Linked DNA regions of Homo sapiens: region 1 is linked to region 2. Evidence: promoter capture Hi-C in human tissues and cell types (Jung and others, 2019). All regions are on one chromosome and are shown on one strand. The core of a region is centred on a gene start or on the middle of the fragment in contact, and the rest is flanking DNA. Distances in the headings are between cores, read along the strand shown. Region 1 overlaps CARMN (cardiac mesoderm enhancer-associated non-coding RNA). Region 2 holds the start of PCYOX1L (prenylcysteine oxidase 1 like).

Region 1 (5,377 bases), core at 139-2,638, 59 kb after region 2:
TCTTCATATGACCTTCAACGCGACCTTGAACATGCAGCTTCCTCTGGCCTCAGTGTGTCCAGCGAGAGGCTAGACCCGGCCAGGCCTGGTGGCTCACTCCTATAATCCCAGCACTTTGGGAGGCCAAGGCAGGCGGATCATGAGGTCAGGAGTTTGAGACGAGCCTGACCAACTTGGTGAAACCCCCTCCACTAAAAATACAAAAAATTAGCCAGGTGTGGTGGTGCATGCCTGTAATCCCAGCTACTCAGGAGGCTAAGGCAGGAGAATCACTTGAACCCAGGAGGTGGAGGTTGCAGTGAGCCAAGATCGCGCCACTGCACTCCAGCCTGGGTGACAGAGCAAGACTCTTTCCAAAAAAAAAAGAGTCTAGACCCAACCAGCTGGGCAGTAGGGGATTCCAGCCATGATCTCCTGTCTCCTGCAAGGACTCCTCTCCATCAGTCTCAGTCCATTCTAGATTTTACCTGCCCAGCTCAGCACAGGAAGTGAGCCAGGCACAGAAAGAAAATAGCAGCTCTTGGATTCCCCTTCACCTCATAGCAGCATCTTCTATGCCCAGGCTTTGCTTTCTAGCTATGAAATTCCCAGAGAGACAAAAAGCTAAGAAAACCCTTAAGATCACCCCAGTAAGGAAAGCTGAGACCAGAGAGGGTCCACAGATGGCTCAAGGTCACACAGCAAACTGGGAATGGGCCTTGGGTTTCCTGGCTCCCAACAGTGTTCTTGCCACTGACCACACTGCTCTCCAGAATAACAGGCACATAAGCTGTCCTCGTGTGGACCCCGGCATCGATTTAGCTTGGTGGCTTACACCCCCACACAGGGAGCTATAATCTCTTCCCCTGGCTGGGACTCAGTTTCTTCTTCTATAAAACAGAGACAGCCAGGTGCGGTGGCTCATGCTTGTAATCCCAGCACTTTGGGAGGCCAAGGAGGGCGGATCACCTGAGGTCAGGAGTTCAAGACCAGCCCGGCCAACATGGCGAAACCCTGTCTGTACTAAAATTAGCCAGGCGTGGTGGCAGGCGCCTGTAATGCCAACTACTCAGGAGGCTGAGGCAAGAGAATTGCTAGAACCTGGGAGGCGGAGGTCGCAGTGAGCTGAGATCGCGCCACTGCACTCCAGCCTGGGGGACAAAGTGAGACTCCGTCTCGAAAACAAAACAAAACAAAACAAAATAAAACAGAGACACAGCGTGGACCAAATGTCTCTAGACTTTCTGCCATAACACTAAGGATCTACCAGGACCCCAGTGCTTTCCTGGGAGGCCCATGCCAACACCTACCTCAGCCCTATCTTCCCCAAGGGTAGGGCCACTCAGGCCAGGAAATCCCACTAAGTCTTCCCCCCTCATTCAGCCCTGTCCCACCCCAGACCCTGAGGCTGGACTTCATCCAGAATTACAGGCTCCAGCCTAGCTCCCCCTCTGAGGATCTGGACTTTTTCTTACCATAAAAGGGCAAGCGTGCCTCTCTTGGTCCCTGCTGCCAACCCTGCTAGGGGAAAGACTGAGCTATTTTTAGAAAACTCAAGGGTTTGCTCCTGAACTCAAGAGGGGCGTCTCTGCGCCTGCACCCTGAGAGCCCCCTCCCCATCTTTCTTCCTCCTCCTTCTCCCATCGCTCTCTCCTTTCCCTTTCTCTTCCTCTCTGTCTTGCTGTCAGTCTCACTCCATCCATCTCTCTTCCATTTTCGCTCCCTCTCCTCCCATCTCACATCGCTGTTCTGTCTTCCTTCCCCCTCACTTCTTCCTTCTCCCAAAATCTTTTCATAGTCAGCTTCCCTCCCCCACTTCTCTCCCTCAGATCTCGTTTCTGGTGGTGGAAGAAAGTAACACATCTGCACTCCCACCCCTTCTTAAGCACTATTTACAACATAAATTCCAAACATCCGCCATCTGGTTCTAGGAAGGGCCAAAAGATATTTGGAGAAGGAAGTCATGATTATTCCATCTTCAAAGCAAAAGGAACTTAAAGGCTCTCTTCTCTCCACCTTCCTCCCGAGGCCCCTTTGTTTAGTATTTGGCCGATCAGGATCCCCCAGTGAGCAGAAGAGGTCAGGACATTTGCTGGAGTCCCAGCTGGACCTGTGACTGGCTAAATCACTTTGAGTTCCTTGCTTCTCCTCTCCATGCCTCAGTTTCCTCATCTGAACAATGGGTGCAAGACTAGAGTGCTTCCAGCACTGATGTTCCAAGACTTCAAGTCCTGGTGCAGAAAATCCATCTGGTCCAGGTCACTGGGGCCTACTTTGGGGCTGAGAAATGAAGGGTAGGATGGGGGCAAGGGAGTGGGAGGCAATGAGGGAGTGCCATCCTCATTCCTTGATGCACCAGTTTCTCTCTCGCTCCATGGAGATCTATGCCGGCCATTCACCGGCATTCACACCCACATTCACACCGAGGAATGGGGTGGGGTCAGATTGTCCCTCCGTGTCTGATCTAGAAGGACTCTGGACACTCTAGAGTCCAGTCGTGTCCCCACCACATCATGTAGGTGTGGGCCCTTGAGGCTCAGAGAGGGGAATACCCTTGTCCACAATCACACAGCAAATCTACAGAAAACCGGGTACCTAGCCTGCTGCTCCTCCCACCCAACACATTCCAGAAGAAACCAACATTTGTATTTTCTAGAAAGCATTGCCTAGTCCCAGCGAAGCCCCTGGAACCCTGGAGGTCCATGCTCTTTGCAAAGCTTATAGGACAGAGGGAGAACCAATGCCTTTTTTTTTTTTTTTTTGAGACAGAGTCTCATTCTGTCACCCAGTCTGTAGTGCAGTGGTGTGATCTCGGCTCACTGCAACTTCCGTAACCCAGGGATTCAAGCAATTCTCCTGCCTCAGCCTCCCAAGTAGCTGGGATTACAGGTACGCACCGCTGCGCCCAGCTAATTTTTGTATTTTTAGTAGAGATAGGGTTTCGCCGTGTTGCCCAGGCTGGTCTCAAACTTCTGACCTCAGGTGATCCACCAGCCTTGGCCTCCCAAAGTGCTGGGATTACAGTTGTCAGCCACTGCACCCCGCCGAGAACCAATGCCTTTAACATGATGTGAATTTCTTTTAACAAGCAGCACAGAAGAGAAAAATACCACAGGAAAGAGGCAGAACACCACCACCAAAAGGAGAAGCCCCCTTGCTTCTGGAGACAGATGGCTTTCCAGGGTTCAGATGGTCTTCACTTATACTAACAATGCTTTCTCTGTTCACAAACCCCTCTCCAGAAAGACTAACACACACCTAAATATTGCCAAGAGATAATGACTCCGGTTATCACTCTGTAAAAATGATACGATGAGCAGTTGGTCTTACAAGGGAGCCGTGAGAATGTGTGTGGGGCTGCCTGGAGCCAATCTTTACTAGCTGTGTAACCAGGAGGGAGTGCTGTGACCACTGGCGCCTCAGTAAAGTGGAGATAAGAATGGTACCTAATTCTTCAAAACAAGGATCTCTGAGTAAAGAAAAGAAAAATTAAAAGAATGGTACCTAATTCAGCCAGGCACAGTGGCTCATGCCTCTAATCCCAGTGCTTCAGGAGGACAAGGCAGGAGGATCACTTGAAGCCAGGAGTTCACGACCAGCCTGGGCAACATAGCAAGACCCCATCTCTACAAAAAATTAACAAATAAAAAATTAGCTGGGCATGGTGGCATGTGACTGTGGTCCCAGCTGCTCAGGAGGCTGAGGCAGGAGGATCGCTTGAGCCAGGAGTTCAAGGTTACAGTGAGCTGGCTGTGCCACTGCACTCCAGCCTGGGCAATAGGTGTTGCCCTGGAAAGCAAGGTCCTGGAGAGTGAGACCCTGTCTCTTTAAAAAAAAAAAAAAGAAAAGAAAATTATTGGTACTTAACTCATAAGTGACTTTGAGGATCAGATGAGAAAAGCTGTGTAAAATAAAGCACTTGGCAAGTGTGGGGTGCATCAGAAGCACCCAATGACATGTGAGCTCTCATTATGATTACAGCGTGTCCCAATGTGCCTATTGCACAGTCAGCCGGACAGGTGATGGTTCTTACCTTTGTCACTCTTTTCCCAGTTTCTGCCCTCACCGAGGGGCCAAGTGACAGAGACTCACAGGGATCCTGGTGTCTATGCCCCACCTGCCCGCAGGGCCTGAGCTGCTCGAGGCAAGGCTTGGGATTCTAGGCTGGGCAGGTCTTTTTTTTTTCCTCTCTTCCCTTTTCCCTGCAATGCTCTTGTTTCAGCCTCAAACTGCGTTCCCAGAGCTTGCTCAAAACTCCCCAGAGCGACCCTCCCTGGGGAGGAAGTGGGGAGCGTGTGAGGTTGGTGAACTCAGCTGGGGTGTCAAGGGGGTGGGAGGGCACTCTGGGAACAGAGGCCCAGGGAAGCTGTGCGACAAAGGGGACATGGAAAGGGCCACGCAAGGGCTCCCACAGCTTCCCCAGATGCCTCTTCAGACCTTTGCTCTCTCCCTGCTTCTGCTGTTCCTCCCATGGTTGGGCTTTGCTATGGCCCCAGCCCCATGCTAATAATAGAAATGGCAGCCATTTATCATAGGTTTATGATGTGCCTGGAAATATGCTCGCACTTGACATCTGCCTCATTTGACCTTCACAAACAAGGCTGTGAGGTCGGAAACAGGCTCAGAGAGGTGAAGACACCGGCTTTAGATCACACAGCCAGGAAGTGCTAGAGGCGAGATTCAAACACAGGTCTGCATGACTCCAAGGCCTGTGTCTTTTCTTTCCAGACATGTGGTGGAAACCCTACGGCCCTGGAGCCCAAGGAGAGCAACGGCTGTAACAAGTGCACAGGTTTGAGTGCGCTGAGACAGGGGAACCGTGGGCAAAGAGGTCCCTCCAGAAAGAGCTGGGTGTGAGCATGGGTTCGTGAGCTTGCCTGGAGCCCTGGCCTCAGCCCTCTCTCACTGAGGTGCCATCTGGCTCGCAGATGTGGCCCATTCCCAGCCCCTCGTGTTTCTTGGAAATGAGAAAGTCCAGGAAAGGGCACAGGGGCTTTCGCAACGACCGTGGCGATGATAGCTTTGACGTGTGGTCATCCAGCCGGCCACTGCCCACACCCAAGAGAAAGCTGGATTGAGCATCAGGAGCCTGGGTTCAAGTCTGCCTCTCAAGCTGTTCCACAGGTGACCCTGGGCAAATCGCACAGGCTCCTGGAACTTCAGAAAGGGGAAGAATTATTCCTGCCTCTGGCGACATCAGCGAATGTGCCTTGAGTTACGGGAGTGTTTTGAAGGCTGAAAGCTTTGTGTACACGGAAGGGGTCAAAGACAGCCACAAGCCTGTCCCTTTGGTCTTGGTCATCATGTTAACCCCAGGTTTCGATTTAATCCTACATGCTCCTTTCTTATGTGTGAGGCTGAGGTGGGGGCATTGGTCAGAGGAGCCTCTGGGAAATTT
Region 2 (6,006 bases), core at 3,130-5,629:
TGGTCTATTACACCTCCCGTTTTGGCAAGTAAATTCAGAATAATTTTAGGTTCTTTTGTTATTCAGTAGTTTTGCAGACTTAAAAGTGTAAATTTAGAATTAGAAGATGAAGCTATAGTAGTAAGAATCTCAAGCTGAAGGGCTTTGGGGAGCCAAAGCAGCATATTAGAGCATAGGCTTGAACTTAAATCTCAGCTCAGTCACCTGCAGGACTTTAGGCACCAGTGATTTCACCCTTCTGAGCCTGTTTCTTTATTCGTAAAATGATTATAATAATTCTTTCACAGCGTTGTGAGGATTAAGTGAAATGTGTTAAATGCCTACTACAGTAGGTGCTCAGATATTTATTTTTATTTTTTTATTATGCACATTGTTTTTCCTGCCTTTTTATGGCTGTCTAAAGTCTAGGGAAAAGGGAAGACTGGTTAATGATGAGTAGAAAAAACTTGTAAGCTAATCATTCACTGACTTATTTTCCTTCCATTTTCTGGTTTTTAAAATTAGCCACACCACAGGAAACCCACATTTTTAGATGGAAAGAGCAAGAAAATTGTGTCAGTGCTCTTAGTTATTTTCATCTTAATGGTATAGTGAAAAGACATTGACTTGAGATGATACTAAGGAAGCTTTGGCTCACTCTCACTTGAAGAGGGGATCTTGGTGTTGTAGTACTTGGACTGTACAAATGTTTTACTGACTTTTCTTACTGCTGTAAAGGAATCAGGCAGTTGGGTATTGATATGTTATTTGGTGCTCTCATTCATGGCAAAGGATTTGATAAATAAAAGTTCTTTAAACACTAAAGCAAAATCAAATGAGCAAAACTAAGGATGAAATGTAATATTCATCAGAACAAGGATCACTGAGAAAAAATATTCAGAAACAACTTTAATAAAACCTGAATTGAAATAACTGCAGCTCTGGTGTTTAGAGTCTTTGTCTGCCTATTCGTATTGTATATGGAACATTATGGTCACTTCATGACTGCTGACCTGCCTTGTTGATGCTCTGGAGAGGTACCTTGAGATCTCATAGCAGCATAGCCAAGTGGATGCACTGTGGGCTTTCCCCACCCTGCCTCCGTGTTGAAGTCTTGTCTGTTTTATTCCTCCTTGACTTGCCTCTTTCTGATTGCTACATATTTCTTAGATCTGGATTCCTATTTCTGCCTTTTTTTTTTTTTTTTTTTTTTGAGATGGAGTTTTGCTCTTGTTGCCCAGGCTAGAGTGCAATGGCGCGATCTCAGCTCAGCGCAACCTCCGCCTCCCAGGTTCAAGCAATTCTCCTGCCTCAGCCTCCCGAGTAGCTGGGATTACAGGCACCTGCCACCACGCCTAATTTTTTGTATTTTGAGTAGAGACAGTTTCACCACGTTGGCCAGGCTGGTCTTGAACTCCTGACTTCAGGCGATCCACCTGCCTCGGCTTCCCAAAGTGCTGGGCTCACAGGCCTGAGCCACTGTTCCCAGCCCTATTTCTGCCTTCTTTTCTGGCATTGACTTGTTTTCTTGGGTTCGCCTTTTGGTTCTAGGTGTCTTATTTCCTTTGACTACTGCTGACTATTCTCCTAACCAGATTACAGACACTTGGCCTTGTTCTGACCTTCAGCTTCCCCATGTCCTTCCCACCTTGTGACTGCCTGGCCTTGTCTTTACCTCTGCTTCTCAGCTAGCTTCCATATACCTAGACTCCTGGCTGAATGGCCCTCTGTTGGGCCAGCCTTCCCTGGGATTTGGTCTTGCGTTTTCATTATCTTTCCAATACTGTCTGTACACTGTAGCTCCATAAACCATGTGTCCCATATTCCCAGTGCTAGTCAGTGAGTATATTCTTATTCCTATCCACTCAGATGTCCATGCTCTCAAGTTCACTGTAGTTTTAAAACATGGCTCCAGAATTTCTTGACACCTTTGTTGAGTAGGGCCCATGTCCATTCTTGAGTTTCCTTGGAGCTTTGTGATTGCTTGACCAATAGAATACAGTGGAAGTGACACTGCCATTTTCTGGACCCAGATCTTAAGAAACTGGTATCCCCACTTCCTGTCTTGGGATGCTCACCCCTGGAACCTTACCATCGTGCCAAGAGCAAACTGAAGTAGCCTGTGGAATGGAACTGAGGGCCCTGGTTGAGCTTTCAGCTGAGCCAGCACTGTCTTGCCAGCCAGTGAGCCATCTTGAAGGTGGATCCTCCCACACCCAGTGGAGCAGCCCCAAATGATACCACATGGAACAGATGAGCTGATCTCACTGAGTCCTGCCTGAGGTGTAGTGTGAGCAAAACAGATGACTGTTACTTTAAGCCACTACATTTTTTAATGGTTTGTTACACAACAGCAGATAAAATGATACAGTCACCCCACTGCATTCCCAGTCTGGCACCTTTGTGCCACAAGAATTGTGCCTACTTGCTTTTCCCTTATCAGCTCTTTCGAACCTCTCTTACAATGTTGATGAGCGCACACATTGTCAATGGGCTAGTAGGGTTGGAAGGGCTTCCTAACAGAAAAAAACAGCTCTAGATTTAAGAGTTACAAAGGACCCTAAAATTACAAGCAAAGTATAGTCAAGAAGATGAATTTGAACACTAACATGATTTACCCTACAAAAAAATGACAAGAATCAGAATAAGTTCATAAGAGAATTTGGCACATAGTGGTCAATGAGTGCTTGTTTTAAAAACTGTTTAAGGGAGTATCTTGAACCTTTGGAAATGAACTTAAAAGGTGTTGCATCCTGACACAAACATTGCCAAAAAAAAAAGTTTAAGATTATGACAAATGCATGATTATTCATCTACCAGTTTACTAGTAGTAATCCAGTTTGGCCCAAGTAAATTAAGTCTCAGTGCTGAGTTAGAACCCCAGCTATAAGCTCTTTCACCATTCTCTGAATCACTTCAGTTTTTTGTTTTTGTTTTTGTTTGAGTCAGAGTCTCGCTCTGTCACCCACGGTGGAGTGCAGTGGTACAATCTCGGCTCACTGCAACATGTGCCTCCCAGGTTCAAGCGATTCTCCTGCCCCAGCCTCCCGAGTAGCTGGGATTACAGGCGCACACCACCAAGCCCAGCTAATTTTTGCATTTTAGCAGAGATGAGGTTTCACCATGATGGCCGAGCTGGTCTCGAACTCCTGACCTCAAGTGATCTGCCCACCTCGGCCTCCCAAACTGCTGGGATTACAGGCATGAGCCACTGTGCCCGGCCCAGTTTCTTATTTTAGCCATAATCTCACTGAGTAAATATGGATTTCATTTATTTTTATATATTTATTTATTTTTAAAGACAGGGACTCTTGTCACTCAGGCTGGAGTGCAGTGGCACAATCATAGAACACTGTAACCTCAAACTACCGGTCTCAAGCCTCCCACCTCTGCCTCCTGAATAGCTAGGACTACAGGTGTGCACCACCACTCCTGGCGAATTTTTTTTTTTTAAGAGACGGGGTCTCAGAGTCTCATTATGTTGCCCAGGCTGGTCTCAAACTGCTGGCCTAAGCGATCCTCCCGCCTGACCTTCCAAAATGCTGGGATTACAGGCTTGAGCCACCCCCAGCCTCCGGATTTTCTTTATTCTGAAACTCATCCCTAACTTTATTTTCTGCCAGAGGAAGTCTGTTTTTCACAGCGTGATAAACTAGCAAGTCTGAGCTGCTGCTCTTGTCTTCTTAGAGGATGAAAATGGGAGTTTATCCCTCCTTTTCTCCTTTCTGAAAAGAGAGTAGATGAAACCTTCCCCCGCCTTTTGGTTTTTAGGAAGCAGAAAGCAGAGATATTAACTATATAAAAACTGCAAACACATAAATAACAGCAGTATAGAAAGCATAGGGCTTGTGTCAGCATATGAATGAGGTAGCGTCTTACCACCCTGGCCGCATGCTTGGTCAGCAATTTCCAGCACTTGCAGACACTGCAAAAGGCTTCCCTTATCTCATAAGATGGTTACAACCACCTAGAAAGGTGGAGCAGGATTCTTCGTCTGTGTTATAATAGAGGAAACAGACACAGAGAAGATACAGAGCTAATAACGCAGAGGCTGGACATAACCGAGGTCTTCAAAGCTTCACTTTGGTCTGTTTCATCCCTCTGCCGCAGCTGGGCCCTGGTCCTGATGCTGAGGACCCGAAGCGGGCACACCTGCGCCGGGCAAGAATGAACCCAGCCAATGAGGAGCCCGCATGCGGGGGGCGGGGCGGAACGGGGAAGCTGCCAATGAGAGAGCCTACCCCGAGAGAGATGGAGCTAATGAGGGCCTCGTGCTGGAGAGGGACGGCGGCTTGGCCAATGCGGAGCTGGGTCTGGCGCGGCAGGAAGGCGGGACTGCCAGTGGGGCGCCGGGGCGGGGCGGAGAGCCGAGCGCCAACCCGCTAGCGCCTGAATCCGGCGTGCTGCCCGCTCGCCGCCCGCCATGGCCCGCGCAGCCCCGCTGCTCGCCGCGTTGACCGCGCTCCTCGCCGCCGCCGCTGCTGGCGGAGATGCCCCGCCGGGCAAAATCGGTGCGGGAAGGACGCGGTGGGGTTCCCAGCTGGGGAGGGCCGGCGGGTAAAGGGTTCTCAGTTCTCAGCTAGGTGGGGTATAGGAGGGCGGCTGGGTGAGGGAGGGGTCCTCGGAAAAGGAGCTGGGTGGAGGAGAGGCGCCGAAGGGGACGCGGCAGGGAAGGTCCTGATGGGGCCGGGGCATGGCATGTGAAGAGGGCCACCTAGGACGGAAAAGAGGCCTGGGCAGGACTGGCCGCGGATCTCACCGGGAGGTCCAGGGTCGCTGAGCATCTGCCATGGTCCTGGCTGTTGGCTAGGCGCCCGGGTGACAGAGGACAGAGAGGCTGGGCGATGGCATTCACAGAGGTTGGTTGAGGGCTCTCTGTGTAGCAGACGTGGTGCTGTAGTTCCTGCTGGGGTAGAGCCCTCACAGTACAGGGAAGTCCGTGCTGAGCTGAGGAAGTACGGTGCATGCAGAGGAGGGGCGCTTCACCCTGTCTTTGCGGCCCTGGGAGGGCTTCCTGGAAGTAACATCTAAGCCAAACCACCCCCAGGTCGATAGGAGACAGTCCTGGCAGAGACAGAACACTAGGTCCGCTGGAGATTTGCTGACAGAACGGGGAACTTTTAACAACAGTCTTTTTGTTTATTGTGTGTGTGGTTTCCCCAATACTTTATTTTGAAAATGTTCAGATGTACAGCAAGAATTTTATAGTGGTCATCTGTATACCCACCACCTACATTCTGCCATTAACTGCTGCTATACTTGCTGTGTCACATAACTATCACGCACTGTTCTAGACATCCACGAATCCAGCCTACATTTTGATGCATCTCCAAATAAATTGCAGACATCAGGACACCTCACTAAATACGTCATCGTGCATATCATTGACTAGAGTGTCATATGTGTTTACAGTTGCTTTTTTTTTTCCTCCCTCAACAACTGTCATTTTAACTACATGACTCGTGAAGATTTTCAAGTCCCTCACACGTGATATTCCCACAGGCAGAGATCCTGGGCTTCGGGGTGGGAGGACAAAGACTCTATTCCGCTAGGCCACTCTCCATGCACCCCAGTTGGCAGGAGTGCCTGGAACATCTGATAGAAGCATCACAAACTTACAGGGTCCAGTGCAGTGCTAAAGCTTCTTGTGTAGCAGAACCACAGCCCAGGCCATACAGGGTTAAGAAGACTGAAGCATGCCAGAAACCAGTTTGAGACTGAGAGTTTAGTGCTTGCCAAGAAAAGAGAATCCTGAGGCTAGAGTAGCCAGAGAAGCCCTCATGGAGAAGGTGGAGTTTGAGCCAGGCATTGAAGGATGTGGAAGAGTTAGGCAGGCAGTATCCATGAGTGACCATGTGTTCTCTCTCTGTCCTTAGATCGTTTGAATACAGTGTGGCTAGGAGTAAGCAGAGTGTGCTGTGGGAATATGCAGGGCACTCCCCGTTTTCTTAGGAACAGGCAACAGGACAGGACATTTCTCACCATTGGGGAAGGAGCAGGACCTCCACCCAGCAGAATTGCTGCATT

The links. The method cuts DNA at HindIII sites, captures the fragments that hold promoters and counts their contacts. A contact is called where the count stands out against the background at its distance.
Region 1: a fragment that was not itself captured here is called in contact with the fragment with the promoter of PCYOX1L in region 2 in 1 of the 25 tissues and cell types used here (adrenal gland).

Annotation. Positions count from the first base shown.
Region 1 is chr5:149,415,774-149,421,150 of GRCh38, forward strand. The region is part of intron 1 of CARMN (cardiac mesoderm enhancer-associated non-coding RNA); the gene reads left to right. Among named protein-coding and RNA genes, the nearest start is that of MIR143, 10 kb to the right of the region's middle. RefSeq lists enhancers at 710-879, 1,256-1,425 and a cis regulatory region at 1,341. The HindIII fragment of the contact is 5,140 bases long and covers 1-3,958 here.
Region 2 is chr5:149,353,667-149,359,672 of GRCh38, forward strand. PCYOX1L (prenylcysteine oxidase 1 like) reads left to right here and starts at 4,380. Exons shown (of 6, transcript NM_024028.4): 1 at 4,380-4,490. The coding sequence starts at 4,403. GRPEL2-AS1 (GRPEL2 antisense RNA 1) reads right to left here and starts at 3,976. Exons shown (of 2, transcript NR_132366.1): 1 at 3,859-3,976. It overlaps GRPEL2 (GrpE like 2, mitochondrial), which reads left to right. Exons shown (of 4, transcript NM_152407.4): 4 at 1-917. RefSeq lists an enhancer at 4,140-4,434 and silencers at 4,160-4,209, 4,230-4,389, 4,410-4,619. The HindIII fragment of the contact is 6,206 bases long and covers 2,341-6,006 here.